Linked DNA regions of Homo sapiens: region 1 is linked to region 2. Evidence: promoter capture Hi-C in human tissues and cell types (Jung and others, 2019). All regions are on one chromosome and are shown on one strand. The core of a region is centred on a gene start or on the middle of the fragment in contact, and the rest is flanking DNA. Distances in the headings are between cores, read along the strand shown.

What was found. Contacts are between HindIII fragments. The study calls those that stand out against the background at their distance.
Region 1: a fragment that was not itself captured here is called in contact with the fragment with the promoter of SLA in region 2 in 1 of the 25 tissues and cell types used here (bladder).

Annotation. Positions count from the first base shown.
Region 1 is chr8:132,876,469-132,882,948 of GRCh38, forward strand. It overlaps TG (thyroglobulin), which reads left to right. Exons shown (of 48, transcript NM_003235.5): 6 at 5,395-5,501; 7 at 6,001-6,144; 8 at 6,346-6,480. Among named protein-coding and RNA genes, the nearest start is that of TG, 13 kb to the left of the region's middle. RefSeq lists enhancers at 5,954-6,455, 6,456-6,480. The HindIII fragment of the contact is 5,308 bases long and covers 2,577-6,480 here.
Region 2 is chr8:133,097,171-133,103,851 of GRCh38, forward strand. SLA (Src like adaptor) reads right to left here and starts at 5,432. Exons shown (of 9, transcript NM_001045556.3): 1 at 5,383-5,432. The region is part of intron 43 of TG (thyroglobulin); the gene reads left to right. The HindIII fragment of the contact is 8,125 bases long and covers 3,781-6,681 here.

The sequences.
Region 1 (6,480 bases), core at 3,981-6,480, 220 kb before region 2:
CAGTTACTTCCCTGGGGCCACCAGAAGGCTGGAATCCTGTGGGCAGCTCATTCGCTGACCTGCTGCTGTGAGTTATTTATGTGCTGGGTGATGGTTTGCACTTGAATTTGGCAATGATGTTTGCCCATCTGAAGTAGGTCCTTTTGCCCTTCAAGAAGGCTACTGCTTACAATATCTGTTTGGCTGGAAAATTTTAAAGAACCATGTTGTAATGGGGAGCAAGCTTCACTGGTCCTTCTGACTCATGCCCCATCTTTTATATTGCCCTAGCCCAACCAGTAACTGTGGACACACATTCTGACCAAGCAGATCATAAGTAAAGGTCTTAAGAGCCTTCAAGCAGGGCTAATGCCATTGTCAAAGCCTTAATGATCTGAGTTAATTGGCTTCTTTATTAACCCTTGTCCTTAATGACTAAACACACTCAAACTTCTTAGCAACCAGTCTAACTTCAAATGCCTTAGCCACCCATGCTACCCAGATTGCCCAGTGGGAAGAAGGATCAGATGTGTCTTAATATATGGTAAAGGGGCATTGTAACCAGAATGTGGAAGGTACTGTATGGAGAAATCCTCACTGGGGAAGCACCAGATCACCCTCATTACAGACACCTGTGGTGGTTGGCTATGCATCAGGCGCTCTGCTAGGCTACGGCCCCCTCTTATTTTATTTTATTTTATTTTATTTTTGAGACAGAGTCTTACTTTGTCACCCAGGCTGGATTGTAGTGATGGGATCTCAGCTCACTGCAACCTCTGCCTCCCAAGCTGAAACAATTCTCCTGCCTCAGCCTCCCAAGTAGCTGGGATTACAGGCATGCGCCACCCCACATGGCTAATTTTTGTGTTTTTACTGGAGACGGGGTTCACTATGTTGGTCAGGCTGGTCTGAAACTCCTGACCTCAAGTGATCCACCCACCTCAGCCTCCCAAAGTGCTGGGATTACAGGTGTGAGCCATGCCCGGTACGGCCCGCTCTTTTAAGGAGCACCCTCCCTAGTGCAGGACAGAATGAAATACATGGCTCATTTGTGAGTCAGTGTTTAGATTTCCAAAGAACTGCCTGTGGGAGATGTTAGAGAATCTGACTGAGCCCGGAGGCAGGAATCGTACTCTGCGAATGAACAAGACCAGATGCCCAGTGGAGACCAGAATTTCGCATTCCTCTGAGCCTTGGTTGTAATTTCTCTGTCTAGGTTGGCTGTAATCTGAGCATAAACTCAGAAATGCCACCCCTTGCCCCTCTGCTAGCATTTGCTTTCTTGAGGATTCTTCTATGGCCACCCTGAGATTTTGCTTTTTATTCAACAAAAGGCAAACATCCTTTTCCACTAGATTGTGGGCATACAGAAAATTAGGAAGATTCTGAGCTTGAACTCACTGGTGATTGCTCTGTTGGAGTGGTAGTCCAAAATATGGTATTTTTCAATTTTTAAATATTGTGTAGATTTTGTCTTCCTCCTTTCTTCTGATATGCCCAAAACAGGATAAAAATGGAAATTAGAGGGAATCATGAGGAAGGCAAAATAAAAGTAGAAAATCAGAATAAGGCAAGGCAAAGATTGGCCCACATCACTCATTCTACACAGTCCTAACAAATGTGAGGGGCTGCATATTTGGCTCTGGGATCCCTGTAACCAAAGAAAAGAAAAAAATAGTCTAAGTTACTTGGTTTCTACAAGATAAAAATAAGAGTTTCTCAGGGGTCACAATGTTTTCTTCTATTGATGATGGAGGGAACTTGGTTCCTCGGGTCCTCATGAAGGGGGGAACACTGTATGCCACAGGGGACCATCTGACTTGACAATGTCCTGCTGCTGAAGGACCAGTGGTTTCCAAAGGCCAATGCCTATAAAAAGCATCTTCAGGTCCAGCGCGCTGGCTCACACCTGTAATCCCAGCACTTTGGGAGGCCAAGGCGGGCAGATCACGAGGTCAGGAGATTGACGCTATCCTGGCTAAGATGGTGAAACCTCGTCTCTACTAAAAATACAAAAAATTAGCTGGGTGTGGTGGTGGGTGCCTGTGGTCCCATCTACTTAGGAGGCTGAGGCAGGAGAATCACTTGAACCTGGGAGAATCACTTGAGCCAAGATCGCACCACTGCACTCCAGCCTGGTGACAGAGCGAGACTCTGTCTCAAAAAAAAAAAACAAAAAAAAAACAAAAAGTGTCTCCAGGTGCTGTATTTCAGAGGCTGCGAATGTTGGGTCCTGGCATTCTCTACCAGACTTGTACCTCCCTCGGTGACTACCAATATCTCAGTTTTCCTTGCTGCCCACACCTTGGTTCTGTCTCCCACCTTGAAGTTGGAGGCATGCAAACGACCCTTCTAGATATGTTCTTCACTCCTCTGTTATCTCCTGGTCAAATCACCATTCGTGGCTTTAGAATCCCACTCAAACTCACCTCCTTTGGGGACATTCTTTGGTCCAGCTGGCCCAAGGCTAGGGATGGAGCCTGACTCTCCAGCTTTCATCAGGGCTTTGGGTTCGGTCTCAGTAGTTTGACTTCTTTTGGTTGATGTGGGGCAGGAGATCTAATAAGGAGGAGGCTGAAAGCATGACAGAACCCCTGTTCCCTGATGACAGTGAATCACTACTGACAGTAGCAGAATAACAGCTAAACAATCTTCATGGTGCTAATTATTATTTTGGAGAAGGAGTCCAAAATGCATAGATGGTGATATCATTTCAGAAATTAGCCACAGAAATCAAATTGTATCAAATGGAATTGTGGGCACACAGGAAATTGGGAAGATTCAGAGCTTGAAATCACTGGTGATTGCAGGGCAGGGCCCCCAAAGGACTGTGCTCTATTGGAGTGGTAGTCTCACCCTTTGGCCACCTGCTGTTGTTGAACGAGCACTGGAAATGGACTTGGGATTCTTGGCCCCTGGTCTTGGCTGGATGATCTTGACCCAGTCACATCACCATGCAGAATCCCAGTTTTCTCATTTGGGAAGTGGAGATTTTTAAAGAGTTGTGAGAATTAAATGAGACAAATATGGAGAGTGTTTGGTCTGATTGTTCATACATATCACTTGTGATTATTTTATGAATAGTAATTAATAGCAACAATCATATTAGCTCTTCTCACTATATACAGAATTAGCAAGAAGGGATTAAAGATGGCAGCACAGGGTGTCTGTCCTAGAGGTCAGCAAAGAACAGCCCTAGAGAGCCCAGAAGGCAGTAACTGGCCTTAGGGTGATCTTACTGGGAGGGTGGGAGGACCCTCTCCAGAGCTGAAGACAGGGTGATCTCCAATGTGCGGGAAGCAGGAATATCAAGAGTGAGGTCCATGCAAAAAACACTGGTAGGTCCAGGTACTGGGCAGTTTATAAGACCAGAAACCCCCAGAGAGGGGCTCTGACCATAAAGTGGTAGGATGAAGATGGCTCAAAGACTGTGGAGGTCATGTCTGCCATGAGCCAGGATGTTGAGGTGGGTCTCTGGGTTGAATTAGCGAAGCATGGAACTAGAGTGATTTAAACGATTTAAACTTGTGCCTCACGCTGGAATGTGTTTCAGAACCCACCTCGGGCCAGCACTTGTGTCATCAACATCTATGAGATGCCAGGAAGAGCGAGGTGCTGGGCATATGGAGCAGTGTCAGACAGAGTCACATGCCTTGCAGGGCAGGATGTAGGACAGAAGCCAGGTGCAGCCAAAAACACACTGAATAACACCACTGGCAGAGATAGGCAGCATGTAGTGGATGAGACCAGGGTTTGAACCCTAGTTCTCACCACTAGTTCAAGACAGTGGCCCATATACCTCACCTTCTTAATCTCTAAAAGGGGGATTAAAATGTACCACCTTCCTTTTAGGAGTGTTAGGTGGATTAAATGAATCAATGTGTATTAAAACATTTTGCAGATAGTCTTTTACAAAGTAGTGCTCAGTAAATAAAAGTTATTATTATACTATTATGAGTATTTTTAAAATTGAATTATCCTAGGCTCTGATGAATGAACTTTTATTATATACCCCCTACCTCCCTATTAGTGGCAACTAAGCAAAGTGAGTTTTTAATATTTGTTATGCAACACGCTTACTGTAACATTCTGTTTAACACACATACACAGAACAATAGATTAATAGCATGGAAAAAAACCTCATCCATAATCCTATAGTGCATTTCTAGCTTTTGTTTTGCATATCCATTTCCATTCAAATTAAATAATAGTTATTAACTTGAATGGAAATTCAAAGCCAGGCTCTCAGCAATTACTACACCACACATTGACTTCCAATACTGATTCAGTTGTACAGTTGTAATTGCAATACATGTATATGGCATTTTATAATCTAACCTTTTTACATAATGTTATACACACTCCCTTTTGGCTAGAATTTTTAAGCATTGTCCTCAATCATAGCATTTTATTATATTTAGGGCATTTACTATAATTTACTTCTTAATTTTCTACTATTGGACATTAAGGTTCTTTTCAATATTTTGCTAGAATAGATTGCACAGCAATTGGCCTATCATTGTACACAGCTGCTGCTTCCGTTAACTTATTGCTGGGAGATATATTTCAGACATAGGTAGAAACACATTATGCTTGGACCTCATATATTAGTTATATAGTTATATAGGGCATGAAAACAAATCTCTAAATGTTATAAAAGATGAACAGTTCCTCTCTGGTTGCTAAATCATTGCACAGGGGTAGAACTCCTCAATATGGCTTTTTATACCTTACCTTTCTATTACTTCTAAGAAAGGGAACCCAGTTGATGAGCTCGTTATAACAATTGCCAGGCCAGATGTGATTAGAGAATCTCTTTCTTCAGTTTACGGAAAGAGATGGATAGCCCTTGTTAGTGATGCTGTATTGATTTGTGTTTTTTTTCAACTATGGGACTGGATACATTTCCTTCTTAAGGATTTCCTGTGGTGGCAGCTGGCTTCTTTTCAAGCTTTTGAAAAGTCGTAAAGGGGCCTGAAGTCATTTGATCTCCCAAAATGAGATAATCTCCAATGTACCATATGTTTGTAAAGCAGACTTGGCCTTTAGTCTCGAGAGCTGTATTCCAGGAAAGGAACCAGTTAATGCGATTTTCCTTGACTGCTTTCTGCCTTGCCCTATGAGACAAACGCATGGGCATAAATTGGTCAAATGCCATAAGTGAGGAAAACGGCTAATTGTTAGACGACAGCTATGCACAGCTTTATTTTACAAGGTCCAGCCTGGTTCCAGCCAGGTTAAACTAATTTGTAAAGGAAATGCATTTACTGCAGGAAGCATGAAGCAACTGTCATGTGATAAGAAAGTAGACATTCCTTTTCACTAGGCGTGGACTTGGCCACATTTATTTCTACAGGAAAAGCTTGTGATGACTTGCCTTTATGAATGGTGACCGTAAATCTCATTCTCTCCAAGGTTTCCAGATGCATTTGTGACCTTCAGTTCCTTCCAGAGGAGGTTCCCTGAGGTATCTGGGTATTGCCACTGTGCTGACAGCCAAGGGCGGGAACTGGCTGAGACAGGTGAGTGATACCCCTCAGGTGATCTGAAGGGAGGGAGTGTGATTCCTCAGGTCTGAAAACCTGGATAACATTGCTTGTAAAGCACAGCTAGAGTGACTGCCTGCCCCCTGCCAGGCTGCTGTGGGCATTGAGGAGGACACAACCTTAGCAAACTGTCATCTTGCAGTATGGTGAATGCAGCTGCTGCTGGCCCACATAGTGCCTTTGTGCACATTGGAAAGAAGTGCCCCGCTCTGGGCAGATGCAGCCCCGAAATTGGCGAGTGGAGCACAGGATGGATTTAATCTCTTATTCTATAAGCACTGCTCCTTTGTTTCTATGAACAGCCTGCACAACCATCCACAGCAGCTCTGACTTTGGAAACTGTTAAAGTGTTGTTCAGACTTATTGCCTAATGATGCTGGTGAAGGCTGTCTCTCTCAGTATCTGTTTGCACAACAAGGTCAGGGCTTCCTTTCTGAATGAGACCATCTCTGAAAGTCTTGCTGTCTTTGCTCAGGTTTGGAGTTGTTACTGGATGAAATTTATGACACCATTTTTGCTGGCCTGGACCTTCCTTCCACCTTCACTGAAACCACCCTGTACCGGATACTGCAGAGACGGTTCCTCGCAGTTCAATCAGTCATCTCTGGCAGATTCCGATGTAAGTAATAAACTGCCAACAATGTGCGTGTTTCCATTAGGGGGACGCCTCTTGGGTTTCAAAGTTGCTATGGTGTGTGTGGCTGCTCCACCAAAGTGAGGGCAGAGATGAAAAGAATCGTTAAGAGCAAACAGCAGTGCATGCTGTGAAGACACCAAGCATTGTTGACACTGTCTTCTTTACTGTGTGGATTTCCTCTAGGCCCCACAAAATGTGAAGTGGAGCGGTTTACAGCAACCAGCTTTGGTCACCCCTATGTTCCAAGCTGCCGCCGAAATGGCGACTATCAGGCGGTGCAGTGCCAGACGGAAGGGCCCTGCTGGTGTGTGGACGCCC
Region 2 (6,681 bases), core at 4,182-6,681:
CTCTGTTGAATATAAGGCAGTCTAACCGGAATTTTATTAAATCATGAAAGCAACCAAACAGGATCCTGAGTTCCTTTGGATAATCCTGTTTCCTTTGGGTAATATATTTCACCTTGGGGACTCTATCCTACAGCAATAAAAGCTCCAGTTTTACATGATATATATACAAGAGTATTTATTGCATTGCATTGTTTATTGATTGATTGTGGCATTGATTATTGTGGCAAAAAATTGGAAGCAACTCAAATGTCCATTAACAGGGAAATGGTTGACTAAATTAAGATACAAACAAGCTATTAAATATTATGCAGATATTAAAAAGAATGAGCTAGATTTATCTCTACTGGCTTAAGTGATGCCTCTGACACATTGTAAAATGACAAAAAACATGTAGAGGAATGTGAAATTAAGATAGCATTCATATTTTTAAAAACCAACCTGTATATATCTTTATATTTGTAAGTGTGTATATTTGTATGTTTTTCTGCATAGAAGGATAACTGAGTAAAAAGATTCACAACATGCAATTAACATTGGCTACCTCTGGAGATGTAGAGATGTGAGAAAGAATATTATGCATTATTACTATTGCTGTATATATATACACACATGCATAATGTGTTACATATTATATATATTTATGTGTGCGTGTGTATGTAGAGAGAGAGAAAGAAGCAGGGCTGGTGAGGTTTGCATGTGAAGTTGATTTCTGAAGGTTCCTATCTGGAAGGTGGGTGTGGCATGTGAGCAGCGATAGAGTTCTCTCTGAGGGTGTATGAGTGAGTGTGTGTGTGTTGCAAGGGGGGGTGTCAAGTAAAACTTAGTCACCCTCAGCTTGCATCTAGCTAACTCACAGCCAGGGCAAAATACCTTTTGTACCTGATCCATTTCAACATTTTTTCTGCCAAGCACTCACATACAGCATAGCCCTTACCCTGAGGGGCTGAGATTTTATTATTGGACAAGACAACCATTCAGGAATCACTGGAAATGTGCCACTCTCCTCCACTGCCTCAGAGTTTGTAGTCTCTAAAACAGGGATCCTCAAGTTGCTTCTGATCAAGCCCCTCATCAGTTAAGAAATAGTAAGTTTAGTTATTTAAGTATAAATTATATACATGTGTACTCTTGTACTAATACCCTGAATTATTATAAACCCTTTATTGAATCAAAAGAATGTTAAAGCAAGAGAAAGAAATGGAAGTTCTAGTCTTAGTATTCTCTTGCTGCCCCTAAACACTGTCCGCCCTGGAGACAGTACTCTGAGGCATGGGCAGACTGGGATGGAGCTGGCCATTGACCAGGGACAATTTCCCACTCACCTCCTTATTTGATACCCTCCTACAGGGGATGCAAAATCTCTGTGCACAAGACACCATGTCCTCACAGCTCTGGTTCTTTGGACCATGTACTGAAAACTTTTCATGGCCATCTTCGACTTTTGAAAGAGAGGAAGAACTAATTTTATATTCCCAGGAGCCTTGGGATCAGCCTAGAAAGGGCTGATGGGGCTAGGGAGGAGGGCGGCCCTGTGGTTAGTTCCCAGACCTCTCCCAACTCAGTGGAAATGCCATCCATCAGGGAGGGTGAGGGGGTTGTTCTTGTTGGCAGATCTGGGACCATGGTGTTCAGAGGGTAGCCCAGGCTCATGTTTTCTGATTATGCCCGTTCATTGTGAGAGGGATGACTGTGGGCTCATGGCTGCCTTGGGCTTCCCTGGTTCAAGCACGGTCCCAGGAGTGTCTAGAAGTTTCCTAACTTTGTCCTGAATTCCTTAACCAGTCCAGCCAGAGACCTGAATCCAGAGGACTGGGATCTCTACTCAAGGATGCATTTGCATTCTTCTCATTGAGCTTCCCTCTAAGGTTTTTAAGGAAAGCTTACTTTGTTTACTTGCAAAGAAAGATGGGGCCACCAGCAGGAGGCTCACTGCCAAACAGGGGCCTGGCTGGAGAAGCCAGCATTGAAGTTGGGCACCCCCAAATAGAGAAGCCTCTCTAAGGGCACAGCAGAGCAGCTGCTAGCCCTGCTCCATGGCGGTCATCCCAGACACCAATCACAGGGCAGTGTTCCCCCAGCACATTTGTTCATTGGTTAGACCGTTCGTTTCTGGCTTCGCTTCTTCATTCATTCCCTTGGGACACGCATTAGTGAAGCCACTGAGCAGCTTTTGTGAGCCTGCATCCTGCCAAGAACTCATCTAGGTGCTAATTGATGAGGAGGACTACCTGCAGCAGGAGAGTAGTGACGGTGGGACTGGAAGCCAGCTCACAGCTCAGTGCCACTGCATGCAATCATCTCCTAAACATGTGTCTGCACACAGATTTATTCCTCCTGGACTTTTCCCTTGAACTCTGAACTGGTTTAGCCAATGGCCCACTTGACATCTTCACTTACATGTCTCATAGTGTCTCATCCATAACACACCCAAAGTGGACTGCCGATTCCACCTCTGCTCCCATCCCCAACCAGCATGTTCTTCTGTAGTCTTCACCATCTCAGTAAACAACTCAGCAACTAAACAACTCATCCTTCTGTACTCAGGCTCAAAACCAAAAGTCATTCCTGACACTGCTCTCTCATACCCTACCAGCATTCTATCAGAAAATCCAGCTGGCTGTATTTTCCAAATGTATCCCAAATCCAAACCCTGCTCCCCTACCTCTTCTGCTATCACCCTGATCCAGCCACTTTATTTGAGATTTTTGTGCTAGCCCCCAACTCTCTCTCTGCACCTGCCTTGCCTCTTATAATCTATGAGAAGCACAGTAGCCAGAGCAATCCCTTTATAAGTCAGACCATTTTACTCCTCTGCTCCAAGCCTTCTCTCCAGTGGCCTCCTCTCATGCAGAGGAAAATTCCAGTCTTCTATGAACTGCCAGAGCCTATTTGATGTGACCTCTGTTAGCTCTCTGACCTTAACTCCTGCTGTTCCCTCTTGGCTCACTGGTTTATCCCTTTAGAGTTTCTCAAATAGGCTGAGCACATCCCATATCAGGGTCCTGGTACTTGCTGTTTTTTCTTCTGGAATGTTCTTCCCAGACAACTCACTGCCTTACTCCCTTCAGGGTCTGCTTATCAGAAAGACCTTGCTTGACCACTTGGATTCAGAGGGAAGCCATATCCCCAGCCTTCTCTATCCCTACATCCTACACCCTACCCCAGCACTCAAACCTCCTGCCATATTATGTATTTGTCTGTTGTCTTTCTTCCCCAACTAGAATGTTTGAAACTGCTATATCTCTGGTGCCTAGAAATGTTTCTAGTTCTGCTAGACAAATTGCACACAGCAGGCACACAATAGACATTCACTAGGATGAATGAATGAAATTATGAAGAACTGACTATGTGCTGGGCCCTAACCTGGAAGTCTTCAATGAAATAATTCACCCTCACAACTATTACCCTATGAGGTGGGGATTATTATTACTATTTTTCAGAGAGAAACCAGAATTAAAACCCAGTTCTATCTGCCTCCAAATATCCTCTTCCCATGACGTCACTCTGGGAAAAGCCAGGCTTTCCTCTGAGAGCCTTCCATCTACCATCAACGGTATGCTGGGTACTGAAATGTACACAAACCCAGCTAGAATAAAGGCTACTATGTGCAAAGGGCTTTCCAATTCTACCCACATTCTTTTTTTTCTGTAGTCATTTATTGATTTATTTATAATTTTAAAATTTCAATAGCCTTAGGGGTTAGCCTAAGTGAAGTAACTCATGCTCTTACTTTACGTTATCTCAACTGTATGGCTGTGAGGTAGGGAACCATGAACCAGTATTTAACACGATTTTTTTTCTGGGAAAGAAAGGCTTAGTGAGGTTTACCGGGTGTCTCTAGGTCAGCTAACTAGTCCTTTGGAAAGCCAAGTCTCCACTGCAGGTCTCTGACCCCAATTGCAGGGCAGGAGTGGGGAGGGTGGCGGGTGGCAGGCTCTACCCATTACCCTATCTGTGATAAACACTAGGTCAGGGATGCGCTATCACCACCTTACCCCCACCATACGCAAGCATCACCTAGAGAGATCCTCAGGATTCTACCCCACACAGAACTGCAAGAGGGCACAGTGGACAACCAAGTGGAAACTGAGTTATGAGCTATGCTCCCACCCTCCCAACAGTGAGGAAACTCCTCTGGACTTCAACCCAATGTGCCCTTGTATTGCCCTCCCTTGCCTCAGCCCACTCCCAACCTGAATTTAGAGTTGGGCTTGTGCATTTCTCTGTTTGCCCCAAGAAGGCTCCATGGCACCTGGGTCCAACCACCATCAGCCAAGGAGGACCTGAAGATGGCAGGTTCTGGAGGGCCTCAATCTCAGCCATGCCTTTTACTCCATCCTCTGTCCTTTGATACCCACCCAGCCCCTCCTGCCCCATCTGGGGCTGAGAAACAGGACATATCAATTGCAGTAAATTGCCACATCCACCTAAACAGGGTGTCCAGCATGTTTTTGTAACACCAACACCTGTTTGTTTAGTCATGCTGGGCCAGGTGTTTCAGCATAAAATACAAATTGAATTCCTCCCCTCAGAAGGGCTTGCAGTCAGATGATAACAGACAAGGCAAACAACTGAAACACCATTGATACATACTATATGGAGAGATGGACATCTATTCCAAGACCTCAGGAGGTGGAGATCAGGTGCCATTGGGCCCCATAGCAGCACTGTCAGCTGGAGTGACACAATGGCCAGGAACTGACCAGGACCCCGCTCCCTTGGTCATGTGTCAACACAGCAGGGAGAGTGTCCTGGGTGTCCTTGGATTGCAATCACGAGCATCCAAGTTACCCAGAGTCTGAGCCTCAGTTTCCCTATCTGTGAAGTTGGGAGATGATTAGTAAATATCCTCATAAAGATGTTCAAAAATTCAAATACACAACAATATCTGGAAAATAGTTTGGCTTCAATAAATGTTCGTTCTTTTCCCTTAATTTTTTAATTTTAATATTAAGATTAGTGTCCAAAGCTGTTATCCCTTCTTCAGATAATTATACACAGAAAGCAGGAATACAAAGAACGTCCAATCTCTGAACCACCTCAGCTGACCTGAGACCAATTTTCCAAATTGTAGTAAACACAAATGCATGCTCTCTACTCATGCCAACGCTGCATAAGTATCAGCTGGATCCCAGTCCACAAACACATGCAGTGCAGCTTCCCAGGGAAGTCACGGAGGGACAGGAGTGGAGCCTCTTACCCCAAGTCCTGCCCCCTGGAGCTACTCACCACCAGCAGAGACCCACCCATTTTCTTCAGACCAAAGACGGAGGGTGGGTACAGGATCCATCAAGTCCCTCTGAAGACCCTCCCCCACATACCACCCCAGGCCACCTATGGCCCACCCAGGGGGTCCCAATGACAGCAAAGTTAGCAACCTACCGGTGGAGCATCAGGGCTGCCTGAGATGTTCTCCATTCGCAGCAAATGATCTTATTTTCTGAAGTAGCAGCTTTCTATTGAAATTCTTCATCAGTCGCTGTCATGGGGAATTTCTCCCCCTTTTCTCTTTCTTTCTAACTGGTGAAATTGACAGTCTGCCTACATTATCCAGGCATTCATTTGCATGATCAAAAGCAGATTTGTTCCAAGATGCAATGTTCTGCCTTCCCTTCCAAGCACAGGCATCTCCAAGGAAGGCGAGAAAAATCAGAAACAGAGCGCCTCCGCTGTGCCCCTAAGCTTGGCCAGGAGTTGGCCTCGTCTGGGAGCAGGTGGAGTGGGGGCCCTGTGGGTAGCAGTAGGGGGAGGGCAGCCCATGTGGGAGTTGGAAAGCAGCACCTGGCAGCCCGAGGCGCTGGCACGAGCCCCAGCACAGGAATATCCAGTCTTTGGTGACAGATTATAGTAAGAGGAGTATGCAGGAGTTTCCAGTGTGTGTGTGATTTCCTGAAAGGAGGCACTGCTGCCTTAAATCCCCAGCACTCAGGGACGGGAGGGTGTTAGGGTCTGAACCCAGGGCATCGCGGGGACCTGGATTCAGAAAAATGGGTCACAATTCTTAGCTTTAGCCACACGATGTAGGAGAGTTGCTGAACTGGTCTGAGCTGCAGTTTCTTTAGCCTTCAAATGGACACAGTGAGAGCCACCCTGTCTGTCTCTTGCAGTGTTATAAGAAGCGAAAGAGGTATCTCCCAACACCCAGAGAGCCCTGTAGGTCTCATGGCTCTAGGATGCCCTTGCACACTGTAAACCCTCCACCCTGGAGCTATAGCCCCACATTACCCCTCACAGCTGACGCTTACACGTCACGTTGTCTAATTCTCCCCAGGGGCCCTGTGAGCTGGGATTATGGTTCAGAGAAAGCTGAGGATCAGAAGGACTGACTTGTCCCCCCCAAAATATTAAAATATTGTATTTCATGACTGCATTGTTATAAGGATGAATGTAAACCAGGCTGGATTCATTATTACATTTTCATTATTATTATATTTTTTCTTCTGATTTTAAAAGAAATTAGAAAGAAAAGACTTTTGTGAGTTCCTAAAAGTGCAGTGAGCCCTTGGCCCTGAGCAAGCTGTGCTTGATGGAGAAGTAAGTCCTTGTCCCTTAACACCATAAGGAGCAGTGAAGTCAGGAGTCATTCAAGCATTAACCCATGCAGCATCTCTCCAACATAGATTATTCAGAGGCTTCTGTGCGCTGGACTCTCTCTAGGCTTTAGAGGGCACAGTTGTAACC